Regions from separate parts of the Homo sapiens genome. Here all the other regions are linked to region 1. The links are contacts of gene promoters, found by promoter capture Hi-C in blood cells and fetal thymus (Javierre and others, 2016). All regions are on one chromosome and are shown on one strand. Each heading gives the region's core, a stretch centred on a gene start or on the middle of the fragment in contact. The rest is flanking DNA. Distances are from core to core; before and after follow the strand shown.

The links. Contacts are between HindIII fragments. The CHiCAGO score rates a contact against its expected background, and 5 or more counts as called.
Region 2: a contact is called between a fragment that was not itself captured here and the fragment with the promoter of KCNJ13 in region 1, in 1 of 17 cell types (M2 macrophages). The highest score is 6.0, in M2 macrophages.
Region 3: a fragment that was not itself captured here is called in contact with the fragment with the promoter of KCNJ13 in region 1 in 4 of 17 cell types (M2 macrophages, non-activated CD4 T cells, M0 macrophages and 1 more); the score reaches 6.6 in M2 macrophages.
Region 4: a contact is called between a fragment that was not itself captured here and the fragment with the promoter of KCNJ13 in region 1, in 1 of 17 cell types (naive CD4 T cells). The highest score is 5.7, in naive CD4 T cells.
Region 5: a fragment that was not itself captured here is called in contact with the fragment with the promoter of KCNJ13 in region 1 in 1 of 17 cell types (monocytes); the score reaches 6.5 in monocytes.
Region 6: a contact is called between a fragment that was not itself captured here and the fragment with the promoter of KCNJ13 in region 1, in 4 of 17 cell types (monocytes, naive CD4 T cells, naive CD8 T cells and 1 more). The highest score is 6.0, in monocytes.
Region 7: a contact is called between a fragment that was not itself captured here and the fragment with the promoter of KCNJ13 in region 1, in 8 of 17 cell types (M2 macrophages, M1 macrophages, M0 macrophages and 5 more). The highest score is 15.6, in M2 macrophages.

The regions. Positions count from the first base shown.
Region 1 is chr2:232,774,564-232,778,366 of GRCh38, forward strand. KCNJ13 (potassium inwardly rectifying channel subfamily J member 13) reads right to left here and starts at 2,002. Exons shown (of 3, transcript NM_002242.4): 1 at 1,882-2,002. All of the region lies in intron 8 of GIGYF2 (GRB10 interacting GYF protein 2), which reads left to right. The HindIII fragment of the contact is 5,243 bases long and covers 217-3,803 here.
Region 2 is chr2:233,531,581-233,535,383 of GRCh38, forward strand. It overlaps USP40 (ubiquitin specific peptidase 40), which reads right to left. Exons shown (of 32, transcript NM_001365479.2): 11 at 1,899-2,199. Among named protein-coding and RNA genes, the nearest start is that of USP40, 33 kb to the right of the region's middle. The HindIII fragment of the contact is 2,926 bases long and covers 229-3,154 here.
Region 3 is chr2:233,497,583-233,501,385 of GRCh38, forward strand. It overlaps USP40 (ubiquitin specific peptidase 40), which reads right to left. Exons shown (of 32, transcript NM_001365479.2): 22 at 2,297-2,333; 23 at 966-1,030. Among named protein-coding and RNA genes, the nearest start is that of USP40, 67 kb to the right of the region's middle. The HindIII fragment of the contact is 2,661 bases long and covers 877-3,537 here.
Region 4 is chr2:233,456,687-233,460,489 of GRCh38, forward strand. DGKD (diacylglycerol kinase delta) reads left to right here. Exons shown (of 30, transcript NM_152879.3): 20 at 213-309; 21 at 535-642; 22 at 1,598-1,711; 23 at 3,071-3,205; 24 at 3,508-3,659. Among named protein-coding and RNA genes, the nearest start is that of DGKD, 100 kb to the left of the region's middle. The HindIII fragment of the contact is 6,733 bases long and covers 1-3,803 here.
Region 5 is chr2:233,435,361-233,439,163 of GRCh38, forward strand. DGKD (diacylglycerol kinase delta) reads left to right here. Exons shown (of 30, transcript NM_152879.3): 6 at 458-564; 7 at 956-1,081; 8 at 2,017-2,119; 9 at 2,857-3,019. Among named protein-coding and RNA genes, the nearest start is that of DGKD, 83 kb to the left of the region's middle. The HindIII fragment of the contact is 2,776 bases long and covers 250-3,025 here.
Region 6 is chr2:233,389,515-233,393,317 of GRCh38, forward strand. DGKD (diacylglycerol kinase delta) reads left to right here. Exons shown (of 30, transcript NM_152879.3): 3 at 889-969. Among named protein-coding and RNA genes, the nearest start is that of DGKD, 37 kb to the left of the region's middle. The HindIII fragment of the contact is 5,698 bases long and covers 1-3,803 here.
Region 7 is chr2:233,290,206-233,294,008 of GRCh38, forward strand. It overlaps ATG16L1 (autophagy related 16 like 1), which reads left to right. Exons shown (of 18, transcript NM_030803.7): 14 at 43-148; 15 at 1,923-2,072; 16 at 2,182-2,229; 17 at 3,051-3,152. Among named protein-coding and RNA genes, the nearest start is that of SAG, 16 kb to the right of the region's middle. The HindIII fragment of the contact is 4,043 bases long and covers 1-3,803 here.

The sequences.
Region 1 (3,803 bases), core at 752-3,251:
GACATAATAAAAGATTTTGACACATGGAAGAAGGATATAACAATGAAAGGATAGTTGGTTGCCTTCAAAATGGTGGGTGAACAACTTTGTCATTCTCCACTGTTGTTGCTTCCTGCCTATGTGAAAATGCCCCTCATGCTCCTGGACACTAGTGCTTGTTCCACATTTGGAGCCACTGTCCTACTGAATGCTGCTAAGTGCTTAGTGTTTCACAAAAGCTTGAGAAAGAAAAAACTCCATGATTCTTTTGTATTTTCAACCTATTTTATGAAAGTTCTAAAATTCCTTACTTAGAGCCTTTCTGTATAGACTGTAGCTAACAAAATTCATCATTCTCATTTGGGCTTTTTCAGGACTGTTGTTACTTCTTACCTACAACTTTTGTAGCACTCTTACTCTAGGCTCTTTACAATTGTATTTTTTTTCTCTTGCAACTAAATACATGGAAAAACCTGTGAACAGGGAAGTCAAAAGGCTGATAATCGGAACAGTTAAGCAGCATTTTTTTTTTTTTAACCTAAGACTGCTGGATTTGGTTTGGATTGTGTTGGCAAGTGGAGTAATATAGAGAAGGAAGATTGATTTCTGATTCCCACTTAACCAATTACCCTGAATAACTATTCTGTGGACTCTTATAGTCAGTGTGGTTTAGTGTAGAGAACGCAGGATAAGGGGATATGGCCTTCAGGCTCTAGCACTGTTGGTTACATAGCTGTGTCATTTTGGGCAAACCACTCAATCCCATTGGCCTGGCATCCTTAGATTAAAACAAAGAAAGTGAAAAAAGAGGGAATTATGATAATAAGATTTCTTAAAGCTCTACAGACTTATGTAAACAAACATATTTCCACTTCCTACAAAGGATACAAGTTTCCTATATGATTTCTTTTATTTCTGTATAGTTTGATGTCTGCTCGTATGGTTTAAAAAATTATACTATTGTTACCTGATATTTAAGTCTCATCAGCTGATCCCAATAGAAAGTGAGGTGGAAGGTTGGGAAGGTTTGCTTCTATTGCTGTGTGTGGGCTGTAAAATATTTGCCCATTTATAAATTATTTGGAGGAAAAATAGTACCTATTAAAAAATGATAGGCAGCTTCACTGATCATCAGAATTCATTCTACTCATTGGGTTGTAGCACTTAAAAGTATGTATTTTCTGTTGCCATGATAAAAAATAGTATAGTTCATACTGAGGAGTTAAGATAAAGGCTATAACTAACAAACATTAAATGAAGATGGCATTACTATGTATTTGTTCATGTCTGGTGTAAATACTTTAAGACTATATTGAAAGTCTTATAATGATTTCTCCTGCCCTCCACAATTAGGGCAAACACTATTGAGTTCTAACCCTGTTATATAAGCTCAGAGATTCTATTTTAATTTCTCAGTTGCAGAAGTATCTATTAATTTCCGCAATAATTCCATGCTTAAAAATTTACGATTAGGATACTCATCACTTTCTTCTTAGATTACAGAAGTAAAAACAAAGTGGCTTATTCTTTTGGCATTTGTTTTTTTATGCTCATTTTGGGTTTTTGAAATTCCTTCCAAAAGAAAAAGACTTTTTTTTTCCTCAAGCCACTGAATTTTTTTTCCTAAGGCCTTTATCCTCTACTGATATATTGTAATAGAAAATTAGTATACATTTAATAAAACAGTTAAGAAAATTTCCAGTAATACATTCAATATGGCTGTTATTGCATTTTTAAGATTTAAGGGAAAAGAATATAGAAACCTTACTATCCTACACTATAGATAATGTCTTTGTTTTAAAAATCTGTTGGAAGTAATCTAGCTCTGTTGCTATTTGCCAGTCAGTTTCTTTCCCTGTTTCCCATAAGGAAAGAAGAATGGATATTATTGCATGTACTCACCAGTTCTTTTGCTGGGTCAGCCTTTATGCCAAGGTAGGTCTTAAGGAAATTTACAGAGTCTGCCTTTTTGATCAGATAATTTTAATCTACAAGTCTAGTTTGTAGGTTCTCTTCTTGGACTGGTTTTACAGCTTACATTCCTCTGTTTATAATGTTGTGGGGGCTGGTTTCAGCTGAGGTTGATGTGATTGGTCACTTAGCCTGCAGGGGGGCCAATTAGCTCTGATCATGTGGAAAAGAATGCTGGTTTGTTAGGAGGTCTTTCTTTACCCAACACAAACCTTAACAACTCTGGAGAAAGCCTCCAGAACTGACTTGGAGAAGGGGTGCATTTTTTCCCTCTAATCAGGACCGGTCTTTAGTAAGTTTGCATAATCTTACTTAAGAGTTTTTTTGAAAGTTCAAAGGGATAAAATTCCCTGCAAGATTTTTCAGCCGTCTTTCCTTATATAGCATGTTGAAGTGTGAGATATTTCCTTTACTAATCTTTTTTTTTTTCCACCATGTCTTTGGGGAAGATTTATTTGGATAAGGACTTATAGGCATAAATTAATGCATTGATTTTCTTAGTTTTCTTCTCATGTCTCATCAGAATGGCTACCATTAGTTCCAGAACTAGTAATATAGATAATTACGTGAAATCTTTTATTTTTTTGGTTAGGAAACAAACTTTTTTTTTTTAAAGGCTGTATACAAAGACCTTGAATAGGAATAAAATTAATTGTTCTGTACCTGATACTTTAAAAAATGCACACCTGTGGGAAAGAACCGAAGAATTTTCTTAAGGCTTATTTTAATGATGTTTAGAAGATGTTTTCCTGATCAGTGTGATGAAGTATAGTGTTAATAAAACATAGTGTACAGTGTACAGAAAATGTAACACAACATTGAAATAGTGTTTAGCTGGAAAATGTGATCCAGCTTGTTGGAACCCTGAAACGTGCTGTGGTATGGCTTTGTGCAGTGCCTTAGTGAACAGTACTTTTCTCCTCCTCCGTTAGCTGCTGATTTTAAAACTTTGACCAAATGTCACATGTAAGAGGATCTGAGAAACAAAGACTGTGATTGTTCAAAGTAAAATCTTGGAAGGCCTGCTGGGAAAATTATTAATGTAGACCAATATAATGCTACTTAGAAAGTGAAATCCGCCTTTGTAGAATCCTCTCCGTCCCCCCCCCGCCCCACAATTTAAAAAATATATTAATTCCTTCTTTGTTTTATTAGTACCAAATACTTCAACACAAGTTCAGACACAGCATTAGAAACACTGACCTTCAGAACTAGGGAAGGTAAAGTATAAAGAAGGATTTGTGGTGTGATGCTCATTCCCTGCATGTACTGGTAGGAATTATAATGTGTATCAATTCCCAGCTAACAAATTGCAGAAAAACAGAACAACACAACAACAAAATACTAGAACAAGTATAGTATAATACTGCTTCTAGAAAGCAGAAGCACTTGAGTGTATCTGTCATGTGTTTTGAATATACATTGTATATTTTTTATTTTCATTTTTTTTAGACATAGAGTCTTGCTGTGTCACCCAGGCTGGAGTGCAGTGGTGTGATCACAGCTCACTGCAGCCTCGACCTCCCAGGCTCAAGTGATCCTCCCACCTCATCCCCCACCCCCTGCAGTAATGCCACCACATCTGGCTAATTTTTTATTTTTTGTAGAGGCAGGGTCTTGCTGTGTTGTCTAGGCTGGTCTTGAACTCCTGGGCTCAAGCTGTCCTCTCAATTCAGCCTCCCAAATTCCTGGGATTACAGGCATGAGCCACTTCACCTGGCCTGAGAATACATATTATAGTAGGCAAGACAGTTAAGGATTTTATTAAACTTAAAAGTCTTTTTCCATAGTATACTTGGTTTCAATATATTGAGACAAAAATGATTTGGCAAAATGATCTTCAATTAAGAAAG
Region 2 (3,803 bases), core at 442-2,941, 760 kb after region 1:
TTTTTACCAGAACCATTTCCATATCTTTTTTTCCTCCCAGAAAAATACAAAGCCTTTTTCATTAACAGCATAGTTATGTAACTGTTTTAGATCTGGAAAGTTAATTTCCTTTGATTCACATGCAAATTAGTAACTGCTTTATTCTTATTCTTCATAAAAATGATGGTTATTCTCATTCTCTAAGAACAATATTCTCATCTCTAATAATAGATATGTCTCAATCTATAAAGCTTTTCTCACTGGGGTTTTTAACTTTTGAGCGGACTTTGAGAAGTGATCGAAAAATCTTACTAGGCCTCATGCCTGTAATCCCAGTGAGGCAGGAGAATAGGGTCTGGAGACAGGGAACCTAAGGCTGTTTCACACCGACTTCCTAGAACTAAATTGAAAGGAACACCCTAACTTTCCATTCCTAAGTAACACAAGGACCAGAGGCTACTTCCTTTGACCTTTTCTGCGCACACATAGGAAATTGGCTGACCCCAACGAATCAGACAGTGGGTGGAGTCTTCGTTTGCAACTCTGTAACCATTTCAGCCTCTGAATGGTTGCTGTTGGCAACAAATAAGACTGAGCAACAAATCAGACTGATTGCTGGTAGGGTCTTCGTTTGCATCTTTGCAACTTCACTCCAGCCTCTGAATGGGTGTTGCCTGCAGCCAATCAGACTGATTGCCAGCTATGTCTTCGTTTGCAAATAAGTGTAACGTTGTAACTTCAACCTAGCCTCTGATTGGTTGCTTTCTGCAACCAATCAGATGTTTGCACATGATAGTGACCTTTGTAACTTCACTTCAGCCTCTGGTTGGCTGCTTTCTGCAACCAATCAGACTGATGGCGGGCTCCCAATTCATTTACATGAGGTGAGCATGAAGTGGCCAATGGGAAACTTCTAGGGGATATTTGGACCGGAGAAGATTCTGTATCTGGGCCCTTGAGCTGCTGCTCAGGCTGCTTCCACACTGTGGAGTGTACTTTTGTTTTCCATACATCTCTGCTTTTGGTCTTTTGTTGCTTCATTCTTTGCTTTGCTGGGCGTTTTGTCTAATTCTTTGTTCGAAATGCCAAGAACCTGGACAACTTGCACTCATGACCCTCTACCGATGACACCAGCATTTTGGGAGGCTGAGGTGTGAGCATCATCTGAGGCCAGGAGTTCAAGACCAACCTGGGCAATACAGCGAGACCCTGTCTCTAAAAAAATGAAAAAATTAGCCAGGTGTGGCAGCATGTACTTGTAGGCCTAGCTACTAAGGGAAGAGAATCACTTGAGCCCAGGAATTAGAGGCTGCAGTGAACAATCATGCCACTGCACTCCAGCCTGGACGAGAGAGTGAGGCTGCATCTCTAAAAATAAATAAATGAATAAATAAACAAAAAGTCTTATTGAGAAACAGGAAAATAAAGGAGAAGATATGAAAAGATATAAATAAAGGATAAATAATAGAAATAAAAGATATAAATAAGCAGAAAATAAAGGAGAAGATATAAAAGAATCAGGAAAATAAAGGAGAAGATATAAAAATAAGACCAGGGCCACTTAAAATTCAAAGGCAACATATGGCTGAATGACAGAGCCAAGTCTGAGCATATGGCAATCGCACTCAAGTTTGCCAACACAAGAAGGTTTTATGCTATCCAAGGAAATCCAATTTTGAAAATGTAATGATGATCTTACATTATTACAGGGTAGAAAATTAAAGAGAAGTATATAATCTTTATAAAATGACAAATTGTTAGATTTCATTTGGCATAATATAGTTCTTGTTAGCTTTAAAATATTTAAAAATGTTCCAAGAGTAAACCTTTTTTTAAAAGAATAAAAATTCAAACAGCATTCCATGTTTATCTTCTAAAGCCATTAACTGAAACAAATAGGAACATTTTTCTTTCCATACCTTCAGGGGGTCTCTGCAACTGGGATTTCCGATAAAACAACATGTAGGCACTTTCTTTACCCTGAAATTGCTGTTCAATATCCTTTTCCCTGATTGGCTGGACTTTAGAATCATTTATATCAAACCAGTGGGGACAGGAGATGCTATTGTTTAAACCTGGGGATTCTGGAGGAAGCATCTTGAAAATTTGCTGGTCATTCCTTTGGAAATCAGACTCAGCCTGGAGAGAACTATTCTTCAAGAGACGAACTGTACTTTCATCTGAACTGAGTAGAAATATCTGAGAATGGAGCTGTAAGAACTACACAGAAACAAAAAAAAAAATGCTAAGTTAATTATTTAAACAAAAATTAGATGTGATTAAAAAATGTTTTCTTCCTTTCTGTGATTAGATCATTTAACTTCATCTTTATTTCTGACCTGGCCAGCTACGGGGGAAAATCCATCTAGGTATCATAAAACATTTAATAAAACCACAGTGCTCTGTTAAATAGTCTGATAGTGACATCCAGGGAGGAGGTCGCTATGCCACAATCTAAAAAGCATTTTGATTACACCTCACTAGTGCTGTTTAAAAAAGTATTTAACTGGAACAGATTAGGTAGAACAAACACTTTTGAAATATTTAAAAGCAATCTAAACAAGGCACAAAACAAAGGCAATCACACAGTGTACCACCATAAAAGATAATTTGAAAACCCAGACAGACTCTGTTGGGATAAGGTAGTAATTATCAACCTAAATTATCTTTTAACCTGGACTAAAGTGAATGTTGTCTGTTCTAAAAGCTGGCAGACAAGCTCAGAAAATCAAAGCATAGTAAGGGTTAAGTCACAATCCCAAAGTTCTTGCTAAAGGATTAAGAAGAAAAAAATTTCTTTCTCCATTGCCTGTCTCTACCTCCCCATCCACTACGCCCCTATCCTCTCACTCTTTAACCTCTGTCTGGCCTTGAGTCTCTTTCTTTTCTCTCAGCCTAATTTACTTTATATAGAAAATTACTTGGGAGTTAAATTTGACACTTGGGTACTTCATCAATCACCCTGGAAAGGTGATTTGCTAATTTTTCTCTTGGAAAGAAAGTAATTTGTGGTAATGTCAACTCTCTGAGAATCAAAAGTATTATTTTATCAACAAACAGAAGAGTGTAGGGCATAACCCAAAGACAACATTGTTAACATTGTGTATGAGAACAGAGGGTAAAACAGCCTTGCAGCTAGTTTGTTTAAGGTACAAAAAAGTATCAACAACTTGAAAGCTTTGAGTAATGAACTTTCTTTTCATTTTTTGTTCTTTGGGTTTTTAAGTAATGAACTTTCTATATAGCCACGTTTTTCTTTGTTTGATAGTTGAGAATTAACTCTTTTAAGCCTCAAACATCAGTGCAGTCTAGTCCCATTAATGACAAAGAAATTTTCTTAGACTAATCTTCCTAATAAAAATGATAAACTCTAGGCAAAAAAGGAAAACAACTGTTGGGAAAGGAACCCAAAGTAGGCATAAAGTGAAGATATAATACTTCAAAGAAGGGAAGCAAACCAGGTGAGTTCTGCACTCACCTACCTACTACCCAGTTTGTAGCAGTGCATGATGGAACAGATTTCAAGAAAAGGCAAGAGTCTTACTGGGATGAGGGGACAGAATCTGAGAATACCAGAGAGGCGAGATCCCACGAAGGAGCCCCAATTCTGTAACAAATCCCCCTAAATCCTTGGCTAACTCCTAAATGGTAGAATGGACAGCTCAAAGAGCCCAGCAGAGAGTATCAGTTAGGAGGTTCAATATCTGAGCAGGGCTGCCTGATGCCAAGAAGAAAGAACAAGGAGTTCAAGTCCTACCAAATTAGAAAGAGATAGCAAACTTTTTCTTAAAGAGCCAGATGGTAAATATTTTAGAAGCAAAACT
Region 3 (3,803 bases), core at 957-3,456, 720 kb after region 1:
CCTGGCAAGGCTGGAACGAGAAGCCAGTTCCAAGGGTAATGAGTTGGCTTCTGGCTGAATTCTTTGATGCCAATTTGGGAATTAATAGAGAAGAAAATGCTGAAGCTATTTGGGTAAATATATTCTTCTGACATCCAAATTTTATGTCCTAAAGATGCTTTGAGGTCCACTTCTTACTCCAGGCAGTCAAACTCCTGCCCAGGCCCCAAGAGGGGCCTCTTGCTATTGACTTACTGACTGCTAAACAGCAAAGAGCATTCCAGGGCAAGGCCCCAGCATACCTCCCTAAATCAACCTTCTGCTGGCATTCAGTGCCCCTTCTTAAAGAACAGGAAGTAGGCAGGTGAAGACTGGGGAAAGGGCGGCTGACCACAGCTCCCTCAGACTCCCCACAGAGCTTTATTTTGGGTCTTCTTCTAAGGCTACGCATTTGAACTGGGAAATATCATGCTATTTGGACCAACAAGATGACCAACTAGATTCCAACTCTCCTGTGATAAAATTATTCCTAAGGCTACCCTAACAGTTTGGCTGGATCGAGAGTTTGGACCAAAGCCTAACTTAGGAATGGTTAGTAAGAAATTCTGCCACCATTACCTTACAGAGAAACTCTGAGATCAAAACATTCAGGGGCCAAAACTTCAGAGTGTATCTATAAAATTCCTTCATGAGCTCAAATGTCATTTGTTCTGTGAAGTTCTCTGCCTTCTCATGAACTGCTCCTCCTAGAGGCATACTCTCATGGCAAGGGGGTTTACCACAGATGTCAGAAATGTTCCCACTGCACTGTGACTTCCCCTTTATCAAAAAACTATAGTAAGAAAAAAGTAAAATAGACCCATTCATAGATATTTGTATCCTATAGAAAGTAATTAAAGCTTTCTCATGAGTGGAATGGGTACCTTGTACGAAAATATGACATAAATGTAATCATACGAAAGTACAATGTATAGAAATCATCTTACTTCTTCACATAAAGGCTCTCCAGCTTCATAGCACCAATCCATTTTTCGTAAATGCCAGGCATCTCCTATAAAGGAGTCAAAATTGGGATAAAAAAAATTCAAAGTTAGGTGAGACGTTGCGTGTAACTTCTAGAAGAATGTCTTGCACCCAGAGCACCTTAACTTCCTTTCCAGATAATAAAGCTATGGGCCTCCATGTTAATGAAGTCTGAGAACAGCAAAGTGTGCTACTGAAATCAGAATGAGGTCTCATCAAGCTCACTGACATGATCTCACCTGGAAAGTTGCTTCAGTTATCTTAGATTTATTTTTTTCATTCATTTTACATTCCGTCATCTATACCACAAAAATACTGACATGAAACAGAATGCACTGAAATTTGGAATCAATAAAATTGAAAGGAATCAGTGGAAGACCTGCGTGGCTCCAGGTGGTATACATCTTAGCGTTCTTTTTATTTTAAGTTCTGGGGTACATGTGCAGGATGTGCAGGCCTGTTACACAGGTAAACGTGTGCCATGGTGGTTTGCTGCACCTATCAACTCATCACCTAGGTATTAAGCCCAGAATGTATTAGCAATTTTTCCTGATGCTCTCCCTCCCCCACTCCCACCCCCCCATACACCAACAGGCCCCAATGTGTGTTATTCCCCTCCCTGTGTCCATGTGTTCTCATTGTTTGGCTCCCACTTATAAGTAAGAACATGTGGTGTCTAGTTTTCTGTTCCTGCATTAGTTTGCTGAGGATAATGACTTCCAGCTCCATCCATGACCCTGCAAAGGACATGATCTCATTCCTTTCTATGGCTGCACAGTATTCCATGGTATATATGTACCATATTTTCTTTATCCAGTCTATTACTGATGGGCATTTGGGTTGATTCCATGTCTTTGCTATTGTGAACAGTGCTGCAATGAACATACATGTGCATGTATCTTTATAATAGAATACTTTATATTCCTTTGGGTATATACCCAGTAATGGGATTGCTGGATCAATGGCATTTCTGGTTCTAGGTCTTTGAGGAGTTGCCACACTGTCTTCCACAATGGTTGACCTAATTTACATTCCCACCAACACTGTAAAACATTCCTACTTTGTACCTTTGCTGGATCCTATCTAAATTCTCTACTCAGAGCTATACCATTAGTTTTCTTTCAGCATGCCAACAAGAACCAGGAGAATTCATTATGTACATATGGAAGTGTAAACTACTTTTTATTTCTCCACACCCTATAAATTTTTTTTTCCTACAACCCTGGAGAAAAAAAAAGTCAAAAAAATTTTTATTAGGCTTTTAAGTAATATGTCATCATGGTAAGTAACTTACCTTGTAGGCCAGATTTCTTCAGCATTAACTTTAAACACTGTAAAGAAAAACAATGTCCAATGTTAGTTTTCTGTTTCTGAGTTACAGTTCTAGGACAAACACCCTTTTTGGACCCTAGGCCTATTTAAGTCTGACTATATTTAATGATTCTTGAATAGGCAAGGATAGACATAGTTAAGAAGATAATACACGAGTCAGCTTTCCTTTCTAAAGGCTAGATGGGGCCAATTCAGGAAGAGGAAAAAGCAGTTTCTGGTGTTTGCAAGCAGGACTTAGTTCAAAGTTTCATCCACCAACTCCCAGGTTTGAACCATGACTTTCTTCCTGTAAGGATTAACTGTGTGTCTTTGGCCAGATATGATTAATCAAGTTAATTTCATAGACATTAAACTCTGAATCCTATAAAAGGCGAGATTGATAGCATTTGGGGAAAGTTCTCCCTTCTCTCTTCTCTTTATGACTGTCTGAATTTCCCCGTTTTCCCTAAATATAAAAACTCACAAGAATTGTGCAAGCTGTGATGTCATGGCATAATGCAAAAATGAGACAATATTAACAAAAGTTTAAATAAAACAAAAATAGTAATTAAAACAATTTCTTGAGGGAAAAACATTGCTAATTAAATCTTGGACAAGCGAGCAAATACAATTTGATTTCTATTACACTAGAGCAAAAGAGAGCAAAAATAAGGAAGTCACTGCTGTACTGTTTGTAATAAAAGAAAAATGGCAAAAAAAACCCCACCAAAATACACATTAATGGGAGATTTTTTAAAAAGTAGGAAATGTCTTAAAGCAGTTCAAAGAAAAAAACAGATTCATATATATTGGTCTTAAAAGATCTTTAAAATATTTTAAGTGAAACAAAGTTCTAGTATAATACATGCAAAGTGATCCCATTTATAATTTAAAAGAAATCACAGAAGCAAAGCACACTCTTCATTTCTATATGTATGTATATAGACACATGCTGGTATAGGCACAGCAAAGGTCTGGAGGGACACATACTCTGCTGATGTGGATAAGATGATGTTATCTGATTGCAACAGTGACTTCTAGAGAAAGGACTAGAATAGAGTGGTAACCAAGGGGGATTGTTAATCCCCTAGAAGTTTAAAAAGTGAGAAGAAATCCATGATTACTTGTATGACAAAAAATAAGGCTTTAAAATATAATTATAGATTGTTTAGAAAATGATGATAAAAACACAGTATACTAAAATATGGTGGATGAATGAAAGCAAGCTTATATTCTAAGAAAACTTAAAGCCTTAAACATTGTATTTAAGAAAAACAATCAAACAATTGAGCAATCAACTTAATTGTGTTTTAGGAAGGGGAAATAGAGAGCATAAAAGCCTTATTTCAGAAACAGCAAGAAGGCCAGTGTGGCTGAAGCACAGTGAGTAAGAGGGGGAAATGGTTGGAGGTTTGAAAATATAACAAAAATGATACCAGAGAACCAGATCACATAGGCCCTTGTGCAGACATTCAAGACTTCACCTCTTA
Region 4 (3,803 bases), core at 876-3,375, 680 kb after region 1:
TACTATTGAGCAAAATTTCCTATTGGTAAACGTATCTTTTTATGCATATCTGCAAAAACAAAAATGTGTCCTTCAGATGTTACTGCTGTAAATAATTGCTAAATGTAGCTGATTTGTGGGTCAGATGCTGTTCCCAGCTTTCACAGAAATGACTCTGGTTAACTATACGAAGAAAGCCCAGACCTATGGCAAGTCTTTGCTTCTGTTTCTAGGAGCCGAACCAAGAACATGATGTGGTATGGAGTTCTTGGAACCAAAGAGTTGCTGCACAGAACCTACAAGAACCTGGAGCAAAAGGTCTTGCTGGAGGTGAGTGGGAGGGTCCTTGTCACCTGCAGGCTGGCCTCCATCCATCAGCAGACTGCCAGGCCTATTGCTTCTCCTGTTGACCATTTCCTCCATGCACAGGGACTTGCCTGGGGATGCCCTGGCCACGGCTGTGCTCCTGAGCCCCTGGCGGTGGGAAGCTGGTAGAGAAGGAGGGGCTGACTCATACCTTTCTCTTTTCTTTTGTTCTGTGTCTCTGCTGCTCAGTGTGACGGGCGACCCATCCCACTCCCCAGTCTTCAGGGAATTGCTGTCCTTAACATTCCCAGCTATGCCGGAGGAACCAACTTCTGGGGGGGTACCAAGGAAGATGATGTATGTATGGGGTGTGAGCGGGTGGGCCTGAGCTCAGTGGGGAAGAGCTGTCTGAGAGCAGGGGGGTGTTCTGCTGTGGCTGGGGTGGATCCAGCTCTTCTGTTGTGCCAGCAGTGGGGTTGCCGTGGAGAACAAGATAGACAGGGTCCCCCACCCAGCTCATCGTCTAGAGGGCTGAGCAGAGCAGTTGTGTCAGTGAAGGTGGTCAGTGAGGGTCTGTGGTCAGCAGATGTGGTCAGCGGGTGTGACGTGGAAGGAGGGTCAGGGAAGGTGTCTGGGAGGCCAAGACCTGAAGGATGAGTTGGAGTTGGCTAAGTTAGGTGGGCAGAGGAGAGGGGGAGGCTGTTCCAGGCAGAGAGAATTGCACAGATGAAGGCTCAGAGTCAAGACAGGGCAGGCACATGGAGGATGGGAGAGAGGTGCCCCGACTGCAGTGGGCAGCAGGGGCGTGGAGAGACAGGAGAGGGCTGCAGGGCCTGGGTCACACTGGGCTGTGTGAGCTGGGGAAGAAGTTTGGAATTTGTGTTAAGAACTGTGGGAAGGTGTTGATAGGTTTAAACCTGGTTTAAACCTTCCTTTGTACGTAATAGCGAATAGAAGTATTCAGCGCTTCCTGCACACGTGGTGTGTGCTGGCCCCAGTCCTGGCACTCTGCAGCGTTAACTCACTTGGCCCTACTGATGGCCCTGGAGGAGCGTGCCGTTAGTTTCCCCATTTTACGCATGAGGAAATGGGGGAGAGAGAGATTCAGTAACTTTGCCGAGATGAGAGCTGGGATTTGGTCCCAGGCAGCTGGTTTCAGGGCCTGCAACATGAAGCCCGTCAGGAGTGCAGTTACCTGGTAACTTCTCGCCAGCTAGGAGGGGCTGACCCCCAGAGGGAGGGAGTGAGGGTAGGGGCGGCCTGTGCTCGGGGATGTGTGGAGTGGTGGTCAGCTCTAACGTGTCCCTTGCAGACTTTCGCAGCTCCATCATTCGATGACAAGATTCTGGAGGTGGTCGCCGTGTTCGGCAGCATGCAGATGGCCGTCTCTCGAGTCATCAGGCTACAGCATCATCGGATCGCCCAGGTAGTGGCCATGGTCCTGGGGTGTCTGGCCGAGTCCCCAGCCCGGAGTGTGCTAAATTCTGGGGCAGTGCATGGAGCCTGGGAGGGTGGGCGCTTTCCAGGGCCATGTGGCTGCCTCATGTCCTGTCCTGGACAGCTCGTGGCCCCACTTCCTGGGCCAGAGCCCTTTCCTTGTGCTATGCTTGACAGTTAAATTCTCAAGATAACTCTTTTTAATTTTTTTTTTTTTTTTTGAGACAGAGTCTTGCTCTGTTGCCCAGGCTGGAGTGCAGTGGTGCAATCTCGGCTTGCTGCAACCTCCACCTCCCTGGTTCAAGTGATTCTCCCGCCTCAGCCTTCCGAGTAGCTGGGACTACAAGTGCCCACCACCATTCCCAGCTAATTTTTGTACTTCACCATGTTGGCCAGGCTGGTCTCGAACTCCTGACCTCAAATGATCCACCCACCTTGGCCTCCCAAAGTGTTGGGATTACAGGTGTGAGCCACTGCACCCGGCCAAGATAACTCTTTCAAAATGTGTATCCTGCTTGAACCACAGCCTTGCCTGTCCCCTCTGAGGTGGGATGAGATAGAGCAGACCCAGGCTGGACTCTGCCCGTGTCTGCAGCTGTCAAAGCCGCAGTGGGGACGGAGCCCATGGCTCTGATGTGGGGTGTGGGAGGATTTCCAGCTGGGGCCCTCGATCATGGTTCTGAGGCCGAGTGGTGAAGGGCTGGGGGTGCCCCCATGGCTTATTTCTGACAGCAGCGATGGGCTGAGGGCAGTCTTTCTGTGAGGATGGGGCAGGACTCTGTACCCAGGCACAGGCACTGGGGCGGGGGAGGGTGCTGATGACACCCACTGGCTGAACCCCACCCTGCGACTGTCTGGTGTCTTCCAGCACTCTGTCTACCCTTAGCTGTAGGCTGCTTGAAGTTCACAATTTTCACTCTTTGGCAATGTTTGTTGTTGAAAAGGAGGAACGGGATGATGATGGATGGCTCATCGTCATCCACTGTGCCATCTGCTCTTTTCTAGGGGTGTTTTCACGTGGCAGGGGCCCAGTGGCTTCTGGGAGCTACAACACCCCTGCCCCTGGGTTCTGACACCTGTTGTCTCAGCACCAAGGTCTCCTGCACTGACTGCTCAGTGAGGGGATGGGGCGGGATGGGGCGGGACAGTGGGAGAACAGACCCTCGGTTGAGTGACACAACAGCAGAAGGCTAGCTGCAGGCGGAGCGCCATCCCAGAGGCAGAGGTGGGGTGTCCTGCAAGGCAGGGACGGGTGTGTGGAGCAGGAAGGTCATGGTGGTGCTGATAGCACTTTTAAACCCCTGGGGGTTTTGGCTCAGCATGAGTAATGGCTATGATGTCTGCTCAGTGTCGCACGGTGAAGATCTCCATCCTTGGGGATGAGGGCGTGCCTGTGCAGGTGGACGGAGAGGCCTGGGTCCAGCCGCCAGGGTACATTCGGATTGTCCACAAGAACCGGGCACAGACACTGACCAGAGACAGGGTAAGAGCGGCTGCCCGCGGTACCTGGGTGGGGTACAGGGCTCACCTGTGGGCTCTTGTGTGCACTGTTAAGAGCTGGAGCTTTTTGTGTTTTGTTCTAGGATTTTTTTTTTTTTTAAGACACAATGATTAAGCTAATAGGGCAGTAATTTCTAGGACCATCTCCTTCCCCTAATGTTAAAAAAAAAAAAAAGTCCTATTTGTCTCTTTCTAGTTGTGATCTCGTTGGCATCCCCATAGTGTCTGTCGCAGTCAGATGCATGCTTCAGAGCAGCAGGTGTAATTGGGCTTTCGGGTCCATAGGCATTTGAGAGCACCCTGAAGTCCTGGGAAGACAAGCAGAAGTGCGAGCTGCCCCGCCCTCCATCCTGTTCCCTGCACCCGGAGATGCTGTCCGAGGAGGAGGCCACCCAGATGGACCAGTTTGGGCAGGCAGCAGGGGTCCTCATTCACAGGTGGGCTCCTACCCCTCTGCGTTGCGCATGAGCCTCCCCCAGGGTCCCTGGGACTGCACTCTTCCAAGGCCCCTGGGGCGTGGAGCTGCTGCTCCTGACTTTTGTGGGGTCTGCATTACCCATGAGGGCCGAGCCTGTTTATGT
Region 5 (3,803 bases), core at 388-2,887, 660 kb after region 1:
CTGCCTCTGCCTGTTTTTGTACAGCTCCCACGCTTCAGACTGGCTTTTAAATTTTTAAATGATTGGAAAAAATCAAAAGAAGAATCATATTTTGTGACACATGAAAATTACATGAAATTCAAATTTGTGCCCGTAAAAAAACATTGTCTCTGGCTGCTTTTGTGCTACATGACAGAGTTGATTAGTGGTGACGGAAGCTGGTTGCGACCTGCAGAGTCTCCACTGCTCACTCTCTGGCCTGTTACAGAAAGCTTACTGATCCCCAGCTTTCCCTGCCGCTGCCGGTCCCACCGCCATCAGCCTCTAAGCGTATCACAGTAGTTCACTTATAAAATGGGAGTGCCATTGGTTCCTTCCTTGACTTTTCTGGAGCTGGACGGTTCTCACAACACTGCTCAGCATGGGAAGCTCTTGGCACAGACACAGCTTGTAGGCTCATGTGCCCCTTCTCTCACAGTGTGCAAATTTAAGGCCCACAAGCGCTGTGCTGTGCGTGCAACCAATAACTGCAAGTGGACCACACTGGCCTCGATCGGGAAGGACATCATTGAAGATGCAGATGGGGTATGTTAAGAAATACCACCTGTGGGGCCCTGAGCCAGGGTCCCCCACCTGCACGGCCCCATGCAAGCCTCCTCCCTGCCCTCCCTGCCACTGTTTCATTTGAGATGGTCACACTGGCATTGGGTGGCACAGTGGAAATTATATGCGGTCTCCGTGTGGTTGTCGCACCCCCGAGCTCCATCCTGTCCCTGTGAGTCTTGTTTGCACCTCCGACAGGTGCTATGGGTAGATGGTACTTCACAGGCCCTGCCATCCCTTCCCTCACTGGCCATCAGGGAAGGAGCTTGTTCTGGGAAGAATGCCTTGGCTGAGTTCACAACGAGCATTTCCTGGCTGCCCTGGACGTGGAACCTTGGGAGCGTCCCTAGTGCGTGCCTCTGTTTGGTTGCAGATTGCAATGCCCCACCAGTGGTTGGAAGGAAACCTACCTGTGAGCGCCAAGTGCACTGTGTGCGACAAGACCTGTGGCAGTGTGCTGCGCCTGCAGGACTGGCGCTGCCTCTGGTGCAAGGCCATGGTGAGTGTGGGCCCTGCGCCCGGGCTGGAGGGGAGGGCTTGCTCCCTACCGTGCCCATGCGGGCCTTGCGGCTCCGCATGATCTGCTGGATCCTGGTAAATTAATCCCAGAGGCCCCTCCGGCTGAGAGTGGGTTTTTGAACTGTTGGGTCATTCTCCTTCTTAGCTATGTTTTGGGGTATTTCTTCCTTTTGCATTTATTCCTGTCTTTAGACATATGCAGATGTGTATTGTTATGACAGATGTCACCCTGCATCATGCGGCACTGTAGCCGGGTTGTGAGGGGTCACCTGGGACAATTGAGCTGGCCGCCTCTGTGGTGTGGAAGCAGGAAAGCTGTAGAGGCCATTTGGAGCGGCGTTGGCTCTGGGCAGTGTTGACAGTGAGCACAGCCATGTGGAAGGGGTGCAGCCCAGTGGCCTCCTGCCAGGTCCTGGGTCTCATCGTTGCTCTGGGTGGTGAGATGTGCTTCCAGGGAGAGACTCAGGGAGCCTCCATGTACTTGCTTCTGGGTTGGTCATTGTGAAGTGGCTGCTGCAGTCACTTGCCTAGCACATCTGGCTGCCAGGAGGAAGCCAAGACACAGGGGACACATAGAGGCACATGGCCCCAGGAGCCCTCACCCTCGTCCTGAAAGTTTGAGGTAGCTGTGGTCGAAGGGCCAGAAGGTTGGGTACAGGACTGTAGCTCACACGGTGTGAAGCATGACTGGCTCCTGCCGGGTATTTCCGTGTTATGCCTTCTCAAGTGCAAAGCCAGGGCCCAGGGCCCCCGATGATAGCAGGCCGGCCCAGGGCCCCTGATGGTAGCAGGCCAGCCCAGCTCTGAAATCACCTGCCTCCCCCGAGGCCAGCTCATCAGCTACAGGGCAGGAGGATTTCTGGTGTGTGTGAAGGATGCCAGTGACCCTTGGTGACGCGGGGACTCTTGTTTCAGGTTCACACATCGTGTAAAGAATCCTTGCTGACCAAGTGCCCACTTGGCCTGTGCAAAGTGTCAGTCATCCCACCCACGGCTCTCAACAGCATCGACTCCGATGGTGGGTACCACACATGCTTATCCTTCTCATGCACGCCCACACGCTTCCTTCTCCACGCACTTTCTCTTCTCCAGCTCTGGAGTTGGTTATCTTGGTGAGATGTCAGCAAGAGGTCAGGCACAGCTGTTGGGGGTGCTGGAGGAGTTGCACAGAGCGGCACACGGCGCCCTGATGCTGCGGCATTGCCCTTAGATGGGCCAGAGACCCAAGCCTGGCACTTGACGTGGAGGTGATGCTGTTGAGTGGCACCCAGGCTTAGACAGGCCTGAGACCCGAGCCTGGCACTTGACGTGGAGGTGATGCTGTTGAGTGCAACCCAGGTCTGGGGCCTTCTCCGTCATGAGCCATTGAAGCTGTGCCCCATCTCTGCCTAGCACATGCTGGCACACTGGCTTGCAGCTGCTCTCATGTCTGGCTGGGACATGGTGGCACCTGTTGACAAGTACTGGTGGAAAGGGGGATGTGGGGTACATGGCTCAGAGGAGATCAAGAAGAGAAGACAGCAGAAAGGTGGCATTTGGACAGCTTGTGAATGTGGAGGTCAGATGGATGGGGCTCCCGGCCTCACACATGGAGACCGGCTGTGGGGAACTGTTCACTGACCTCCTCCTGACTTACAGGTGTGCATGTGTCAGGTGTGTGTCCTTTGGGGGGGTCTGCTGCTGCTGATTCCATCAGTGGTGCCCTCAGCGTCTTCCGTGGCCTATATATTTTCTTCTGTTCGTTCTTGCGTCCAGGGTTCTGGAAGGCCAGCTGTCCTCCTTCTTGCACAAGCCCACTGTTGGTCTTCGTCAATTCAAAAAGTGGGGACAACCAGGGTGTGAAGTTCCTCAGAAGATTCAAACAGCTACTAAACCCCGCCCAGGTCTTCGACCTCATGAACGGAGGCCCACACCTCGGGTAGGAAGCTTGTAAAATATATCTTTCTTGGAGTTTTAAAAATTGTGTAGATAGTGTGTGCTTGTTAAAAAAAAAAAGTTCAAAGACACAAAGCTTTAAATAGGAAAGAAAAGTTGAACTGCTTCCTTCCCAAATTGCACTTGCAGAGGTGCCCACTCTTAATAGAGGTGCATGGCCTTCCAACTTTGAACACAGTGCGCGTGTGCACACACGTACATACATCCATGTACACACACCCATGCACGTGCATCTTTTGAGCCAATCAGGATTCTTCTTTACCTGCCGTTGCACAAATGCCTTCTGTATGTGTCTGCATACAACGTTGTGGGTGTATTTTCTTTCATTTTATAATTTTTTATTTATCTGTCTATCTATCATCTATCTATCTATCTATCTATCTATCTATCTATCTATCTATCTATCTATCTATCTATCTGTGGGTGTATTTTCCTGGCGTGCCTCGTTCTTTGTAACAGCTGCCTAACATTGAGGAAGAAGCTGTCCTGCAGCGAGGCCAGGAGGAGTGTTTGCTGAGAGGCACAGGAGGCCGCTCGGTGTGCAGGTGCTGCAAGGCAGGAACACGTAAGGGCGGCGTTGGGCCAGAGCGATTTCCACTGTGCATCAGCAGCACAGAGATTAGACTGTTCCTCTGCTTGCTGGAGAGCCATGTGTGTTCTTTGTAGTTTTTTACTTTTCATAAGTTTGTAGAAAACATTTGCCTTTGTGAATTTTGCCATTTGAATGAATTTCTTCCTCTGGAAGCATCAGTTCCAGGTCGGAGCTC
Region 6 (3,803 bases), core at 543-3,042, 610 kb after region 1:
AAATTTGAAATGGAACAAAGCAGCTTGTTTAGAAAGGGTTCTGACCACTTCCCTCAATTAAAAAAAAAAAAAAACACGACAAAATAACCTTTTACAGTTAGTTCTGGTGGTGCGGGGAGGGGAAAGGTTACTTAAAAGATTGAGTTTCTTTTCTGAGTTATTAGTTTGATTTTCTCCAGGGTTCCTCATAGAGCCATCGTAGAATAGAGGGGATGGTATAAGGGAAACAGGAGGCAGGGGCTGTGCCGGGGGACCCTGTAGGGAGTGGAGAGGGAGACGGGGGAGGTCCCCAGGCCTGACTCCCAGCCCTGCCCTGGAGCATCTTTCTCTCCAGGACCAGGATCCTTCTGCTCTACTCCCTTGTTTCCTTTCACGGCCAGACCCTTTCCATTTGGACCTGTCTCTCTTCTCCAGAAGAATTTGTTTTAGCCAGGACCTTCCCCCTCCATGTGCTCGCTGGAGGAACAAGCCAGGAGGACACGGAATCCTCAGTCCAGACCCCGGCCTTCCCTCAGCTAAAACACTGTGTGAGAACATACTTCACATGTAAAAGTGAATACTGGTATTGACAGTAGTAAATACAGAAATACCAGCATTGGGTTGTTTGCTTTGGTTCTCTCTCTTTCTTCCTTCACTAATGCAATGACAATGTTTGTAGATTTTTTTAAAAAAATCATGGCACTATACCTGTGAGCCCGAGCTTTTGGTTAGAAGCAGGTGGGTGGGTTAATTTGGATTGGCTTATTGATTGGATGCTACAGTTTCAAGGTACTGGGGCTTCTGTGGGTGCTTGTTAGGGATCATTGGGGTGTGGTGGGCAGCGCTGGCTAGTGCTTAGGGATGTACCTGTCTTTATGTGCCTTAGTCCCTGTGTTTGTCTCTTTCTAGTCAATCATATTTGATGAGGTGGATCTGACAGATGCCAGCGTAGCTGAATCCAGTACCAAAAACGTCAACAACAGTTTTACGGTAAGATTCCTCAGTCATGCCTTTCTTGATTCTTCACTGAAGTTGGCTTTCCTTTTTGATCTGAACATGTGTCCAAGCAGTTCAAACGTTTTCATTCTTTTCTTACTGATTGGAATGATTGCTGGTAAAATTTGAATTTAATGCTGAAAGTAATACTGTGGTTGGAGAATAACCAAGAATTTGGCATGCATAAGCACAAAAGGACAATAGGGACCAAATGAAAAATTTTTATATGTGTTTTGGTTCACGTCTGTTTTGTTTTTTTTGAGACGGAGTTTGGCTCTTGTTGCCCAGGCTGGAGTGCAATGGCGTGATCTCCAGCTCACAGCAACTTCCGCCTCCCGAGTTCAAGCGATTCTCCTGCCTCAGCCTCCCGAGTAGCTGGGATTACAGGCATGTGCCACCACACCTGGCTAATTTTGTATTTTTAGTAGAGACAGGGTTTCTCCGTGTTGGTCAGGGTGGTCTCGAACTCCCAACCTCAGGTGATCCACCCTCCTTGGCCTCCCAAAATCCTGGGATTACAGGTGTGAGCCACCACGCTTTGCTGGTTCACATCTTACTACCTCTGTACAGAGTTTTGTTTTTTGTGATTAATGTAGAAAATTTGGAAAATGCAGACAAGTATGTTAAAGCAATTAAAAAGCAGCCATAACAGCCACCTCAAAAAACATTGAATGTTAATATTTTGGTGTATTTCTTTTTTTTTTCCTTTTTTATGTTTAAACTTTCTTCCTTCCAAATTTATAAAAGTTATGTAGGACTTTCTGCAAAAGTTCTAAATGCACAGAATCATGTGATCTCACCACTTGGAAGTGGCCAGCTGCTTACTCTACAGTGTTTATCTTTATTTCTGTATATTTATGTCTTTACCTACATGTACCCATGAGATCATGCTGAACCTTTTGGTTTACACCTGTGTTTTTTTCCCCCCCCAGGACAATTTATAGTAGAGAGTTGCTCATGTCAGCTGATCTAAATGTTCATGATATTATTTAATGGCTATAGTAGCATTTTCTTGTAGGATTTTATAATTTAGGCTTTACGGGCTGACTTTAGCGCCTGCCTGTGTAAGGTTTGACTCTAATAACAGCACTAGAACTTTTAAAGCTGTTTTTCTTTATGTTATTAGGCCATCCCATGTAGACAAAAAGTGTGTACCCTAATTAAAAAAATTATTCTTTTATAATTCAGTCAAGGTGAGTAATTTTCCTCAAGTTTAGGATCTGATATTTTGGGTTAGTGCTAGTTTCAGGTGCTTTCAAGTTTTGTTTTATTTTATTTATTGATGGATTCATTGTTGATGTTGCCAATACAAATGGGATTTTCCTTTCTCTGTCTAAACCTCTGCTTATTTTGTGTTGATTAACTGCTCTTATTTTACTTGGAGTATTTGTAGTTTTCTCTATTAATTTATTTTTACCAGCTGGGAAGAGACATTTTTAACCACATAAATAGATTTTTCTTTGATTCGTGGTTTTTAGAGTCTTTAATAGGAGTAGGTGTTGAATTTCTTTGGAGTGTTCTGAGCATCAGTTGATTAATTAATGAATTTTTTTGAGATGTTGTCTCCCTTTGTCACCCAGGCTGAAGTGCGGTGGTGTGATCTCGGCTCACTGCAACCTCCGTCTCCCAGGTTCAAGGGATCCTCATGCCTCAGCCTCCCTAGTAGCTGGGATTATAGTCGTGCACCGTTATGCCCAGATAATCTTCGTAATTTTAGTAGAGATGGGGTTTCACCATATTGGCCAGGCTGGTCTCAAACTCCTGGCCTGGAGTGATCTACCCGCCTGAACCTTCCAAAGTACTGGGATTACAGGCATGAGCCACTGTGCCTGGCCCTGGGCATTAATTTAGATGTTCATTTTGGTTTCAGTTATTTGCATATTTCCTAATAAAAAAATTATTCTTGGTAATGTTGAATTTTACTCCTTTATCTTGCAATTTAGAATTTTCCCACTGGTATGTATGCATTTGTTTTGGGTGAGAATGTAGCCTTATTGCAGTTTTAAACAATTGTTTTTTCTGTTTTTAATTTTAATGGATACATAATAGTTGGACATACTGTGTTTTGATTTCAGAGTTAAACCAACCCCATAAAATTCATTTAGTAACTTTCTATGAGTTTATGTTTTCTGCAACATTTTATGTAGCTTTGGGATTGGTTGTTTCTTAAGTTCGAGAGAATTTATTTTAAATTATTTGTCAAGAAGACTTTTTAGGGAGATAAGGCTGTAATAGAAATAAATCCTAAAATATTTATTTCTTGCATTTTGATCATTTTTTGAACCTTTTCACTTTTTGAGTCCACATCTGTAATTTACTTTCCCACAAATTTCACACCTTCAAAGTTAGTAGCGTGTACTGTTGTGTAGTTTAAACACCTGTGTCTCTGGTTGAATCTCCTTTGCATTTCTAATTTTATTAGTTTAGTTTGCTTTTCTTGTCAGATTTCGTAAACTCTAGCATTTTTGTTTTCTTTGTTTTTAAAGAGAACTAGTTCTTAGATTATTGAACAATTCTCCTTTTCTGTTTCCTTTTTTATTTTTTTGAGACGGAATCTTGCTCTGTTGCCCAGGCTGGAAGGCTGGAGTGCAATGACGTGATCTTGGCTCACTGCAACCTCCACCTCCTGTGTTCAAGCGATTCTTCTGCCTCAGCCTCCTGAGTAGCTGGGATTGCAGGCACCTGCCACCACGCCCAGCTAATGTTTTTATATTTTCAGTTAGAGACGGGGTTTCGCCATGTTGGCCAGGCTGTTCTCAAACTCCTGACCTTGAGTGATCTGCCTGCCTCAGCTTCCCAAAGTGCTGGGATTACAGGTGTGAGCCACC
Region 7 (3,803 bases), core at 702-3,201, 520 kb after region 1:
TTGGTGCCTCTGCTTGATTAATGATGTTTGCATTTCTTTCAGGCATAAAGACAGTGTTTGCAGGATCCAGTTGCAATGATATTGTCTGCACAGAGCAATGTGTAATGAGTGGACATTTTGACAAGAAAATTCGTTTCTGGGACATTCGGTATGATACCCAAGCTCCTGACTGGAGGCACATAAGAGTCTCCACAGTAATGGTTCTGTACATGGGTTGTGCTTTTAAGATCTCAGGACATGGCAGAAATGAGTTTCGGTACACGTATAGTGTTAGCTTATTAACACTTGGCTGTTCTTTCCCATGAAGTAGACTGTGGAGCTTAGCAATCATTTATTGAGCATGCAGTGAGTGCTAGGCCCTTCACCAGCTGGCAGGTAAGAAAAGGCAAACAGGATACTCTTTCTACCTTTAGGTAATTTAAACTGTAGTAGGGAAGGCAGAACGCAAAAGTCAGTGACTAGTGTGTTGAAGTGGAGGCAGCTACGTTTGTTCCAGTGTGTTAAAGAATGCCTCTCCAGATTTCTCCGGAGACGTGAGTAGGATTCACACGGCAGGAAAGCCACTCAAACTTTTGAGTGTGTGTCTGGTGGCTGATACATGGCAAGTGAGCAGGAAACAGGGCAGAAGCCAGTGAGGGGGCTATGAGGGGTTGAAATCAGGTTGCCACAGGCTTGATAAGCCATTGTCAAATCACTCGATCTTGTAAGTCGTTGGGTGTTTAGCAAGGAAATGGTTGCTTTGCAGGAGTCTAGTAGACGACTTTGGTGGCATTTTGAGAGGGCATATTAGGGAATAGGAAACCAATAGAGTTGATAAGGACCTAAGTTCAAGTCAGTAGAGGAACATGTGGAGGAGAGAATCTATTTGAAGGAGAATTTGGACAGGGCTTATTGACAGGTTGGAGGAAGGGGAAGACAGGATGGAGAGTAAATGAGGACAGCCTCCCAGCAGGGTTGTAGAGAGGGTGGGGGTACAGGGCCTGTGGTGATAGATGATGCTTTGAAACACAGCATGGCACCAGAAAGTCCTGACAATGCTCATGGTTCCTGGACACCACTTCACATTTTATTCATAATCTTTAGTTTGCTTTTAAAACCTGAAATTGGAACTTGAAAGATGGAATTTGAGAGTTAAGTTGGATGTTCGAAGTCTCTTAGTCCATCCCATAATTTGACAGGTGAAGACCCTGAGTCCCAAGGAAGTGGAGTAGCTTGCTTCAAGCTGCATATTTAGCAACAATAAGATAAATTCTTGCTTAGTTAAGGTGGGAGGTAGGAAAAGGTTTCATTGAAAGCCTACAACAAAATCATCACAGAACAGGTCAGCACCCCCTTTGGCTATGAATGTCACCAACAGGGCCCTGCCCAGGGTGGCTGTTAGCCACCCTGGACATGGGCCACAGCACAGAGAAGAAGAGGGAGGTGCGTAGGGCCGTGGCTCTGCCCTGGCTTTCCTGGCCCCATATCTGGAGGTGGAGGGCCACAGAGCCACAGTGAATAGGGCAGAAAACCTGCAAGAGGCTAGAGTTACACTTACAAGGCAGCCCAGGCCCACTAATGCAGGTTTCTTTGCCAACTTTATCCAAAAGTTGAAATCACATCACTGAAAATAATACGAATTGGGTAGTAGCCCTAGTTAGCTCATGCTGATCAGAAACCGATGGGCGATTGTTGTCATTCCAAAAATGGATGAGGAAATTCTTACCAACTTCAGAGTTCTAGTCTGGGAATGACTGTCTTAGGGTCTGTTGATGGGAAAGTAAGAAAAGCAGTCACAGGTTATTAGAAGACTGGGAACACATTGACTGCGCTGGCAGAGCGTTGCATGCTAGTTGAATTGCAGTGCCTTTTTTTTCCTCCACGGCATGATGTGAAGTAGTTCTGGCCTACGTTACATTTCTCAGATCTGTTCTCCCTCTTAGATCAGAGAGCATAGTTCGAGAGATGGAGCTGTTGGGAAAGATTACTGCCCTGGACTTAAACCCAGAAAGGACTGAGCTCCTGAGCTGCTCCCGTGATGACTTGCTAAAAGTTATTGATCTCCGAACAAATGCTATCAAGCAGACATTCAGGTAACTGAAGATGTGCTGGTTGCATGAAGACCAGAGGCCCAGCCCTGCTCTCTTAACGTGCTGCGTGGCCTGAGCTCCCTCAGTGACAGTGCCCTGTTGTTTGTTTCAGTGCACCTGGGTTCAAGTGCGGCTCTGACTGGACCAGAGTTGTCTTCAGGTTAGTAGTGACCCACCCCCCGCCAATTTGGTTCATCACAAAGAGTCCTGCATGGGCATTTTCCCACTGGGGATATAGAGCTAAATTTTGTTCAGTGCCCAACCTATGTTTCCAGGAGTGTGCCTGTAAGTTCATAATTGCAGGCCACCATTATTGTCTCTTCCTTTCCAGTGTTCCTTTTGTGATTACATGAACCTAACGTGTTGTACCAAAAAATAACAGTTGGCTGGTTGCTTTGTTGTGGGTGAGCCCATTAGGTTCACTTCTCATCACTCATTCACGCAAGAGCTGTTGGAGAGCCTTTAGAAAAGGGCAGGAGTGGCCGTGGGCCTGGGGCGGGACTGAAAAGGCTTTTTGGAGAAGGGTGTGCAGGTGGTCTGCAGTTTTCTGCTCCTTGTTCCCTTCTTCCATGTATCCTGCTTCTTCCAAATACCTTTCCAGGCTCAGTTGCTAAGATGTTTCTTTTCTTCCCTCCTCTCTTTGAGGCATGTAACAAGGCAGTCCATGGGCTGAAACCCTTAGCTATGTGGAGGTTGGCTTTGATCTCCCTATATGTTGTTTTGTTGAAGTCTGTAGATGGTTAAGGACTTGGAGCCCCAAGAAGCAATGTGATGCCACTGTTCATTAGCCGGACGGGGCTGAAATACTGGGGAAAAGCAGATTTGGCTGGAAGGGCCATGACTAGCACACATTCTGAGGTCTGGGTACACAGGAGTGGTCATCAGTGAAGAACAAACATTCCTTCTTGGGAAAAAGGCCACAGAGATGCTGAATTGGGGGTGGGGAATTGACAACCTTTCTTTTCTTACTGTCTTCTGTAGCCCTGATGGCAGTTACGTGGCGGCAGGCTCTGCTGAGGGCTCTCTGTATATCTGGAGTGTGCTCACAGGGAAAGTGGAAAAGGTTCTTTCAAAGCAGCACAGGTAAGATGAACCCTGTCTCAGCCCCCCGTTGCGTTGTGAGCAAGGCCTTTGACTTCATCTCAGGGGTCATCCGGTTTAGACCTCAGTCGGCGCTGTGAGGGCACTGTCCGCCCACCTGCTCGGCTGGCTGAGCTAGGTCAGTGGAGAGAAGCTGGGGCCACTCACACAGCACAGCAGGCCACAGTCTACAGAGTACGCCAGGTAGAGCGGTTAGAGTGGCAGCCGCTGGAGAAAGGGTTATAGAAACACATCCCTGACTCTTTGGTTATGTCCACGTCCTCTGTGTCTCCTTCCCCTTCCCTACTCTCCTTCCTTTCCGCCTCCCTGTCTCCCTTGGAAGTCCCTGTTGTCAGTGCATTTCAGTGCATTGACGTGTCCTAAACACTGATCTCCACACACCTTCTTTTATCTTCCACCTGATAGGCAGGCCCCAGACCCCCTTTTTTCCTAGCTTTGTTCTGCCCACACAAGCCCACCTGCTAGTTGGAACCCAGATACCATTTTCCTTCAGAACCTCTCTCCCTGTCCTTGGGCAGCAGCAACTGCTCCCAGACCTAACCAGTGCTGACCACCACTGCCCGGCTCTTCAGAGGCATGTGTACTGTCTTTCCAGCTCACTCAGAGCTCCTCTCTTAGGGAGAGTGTGATAAG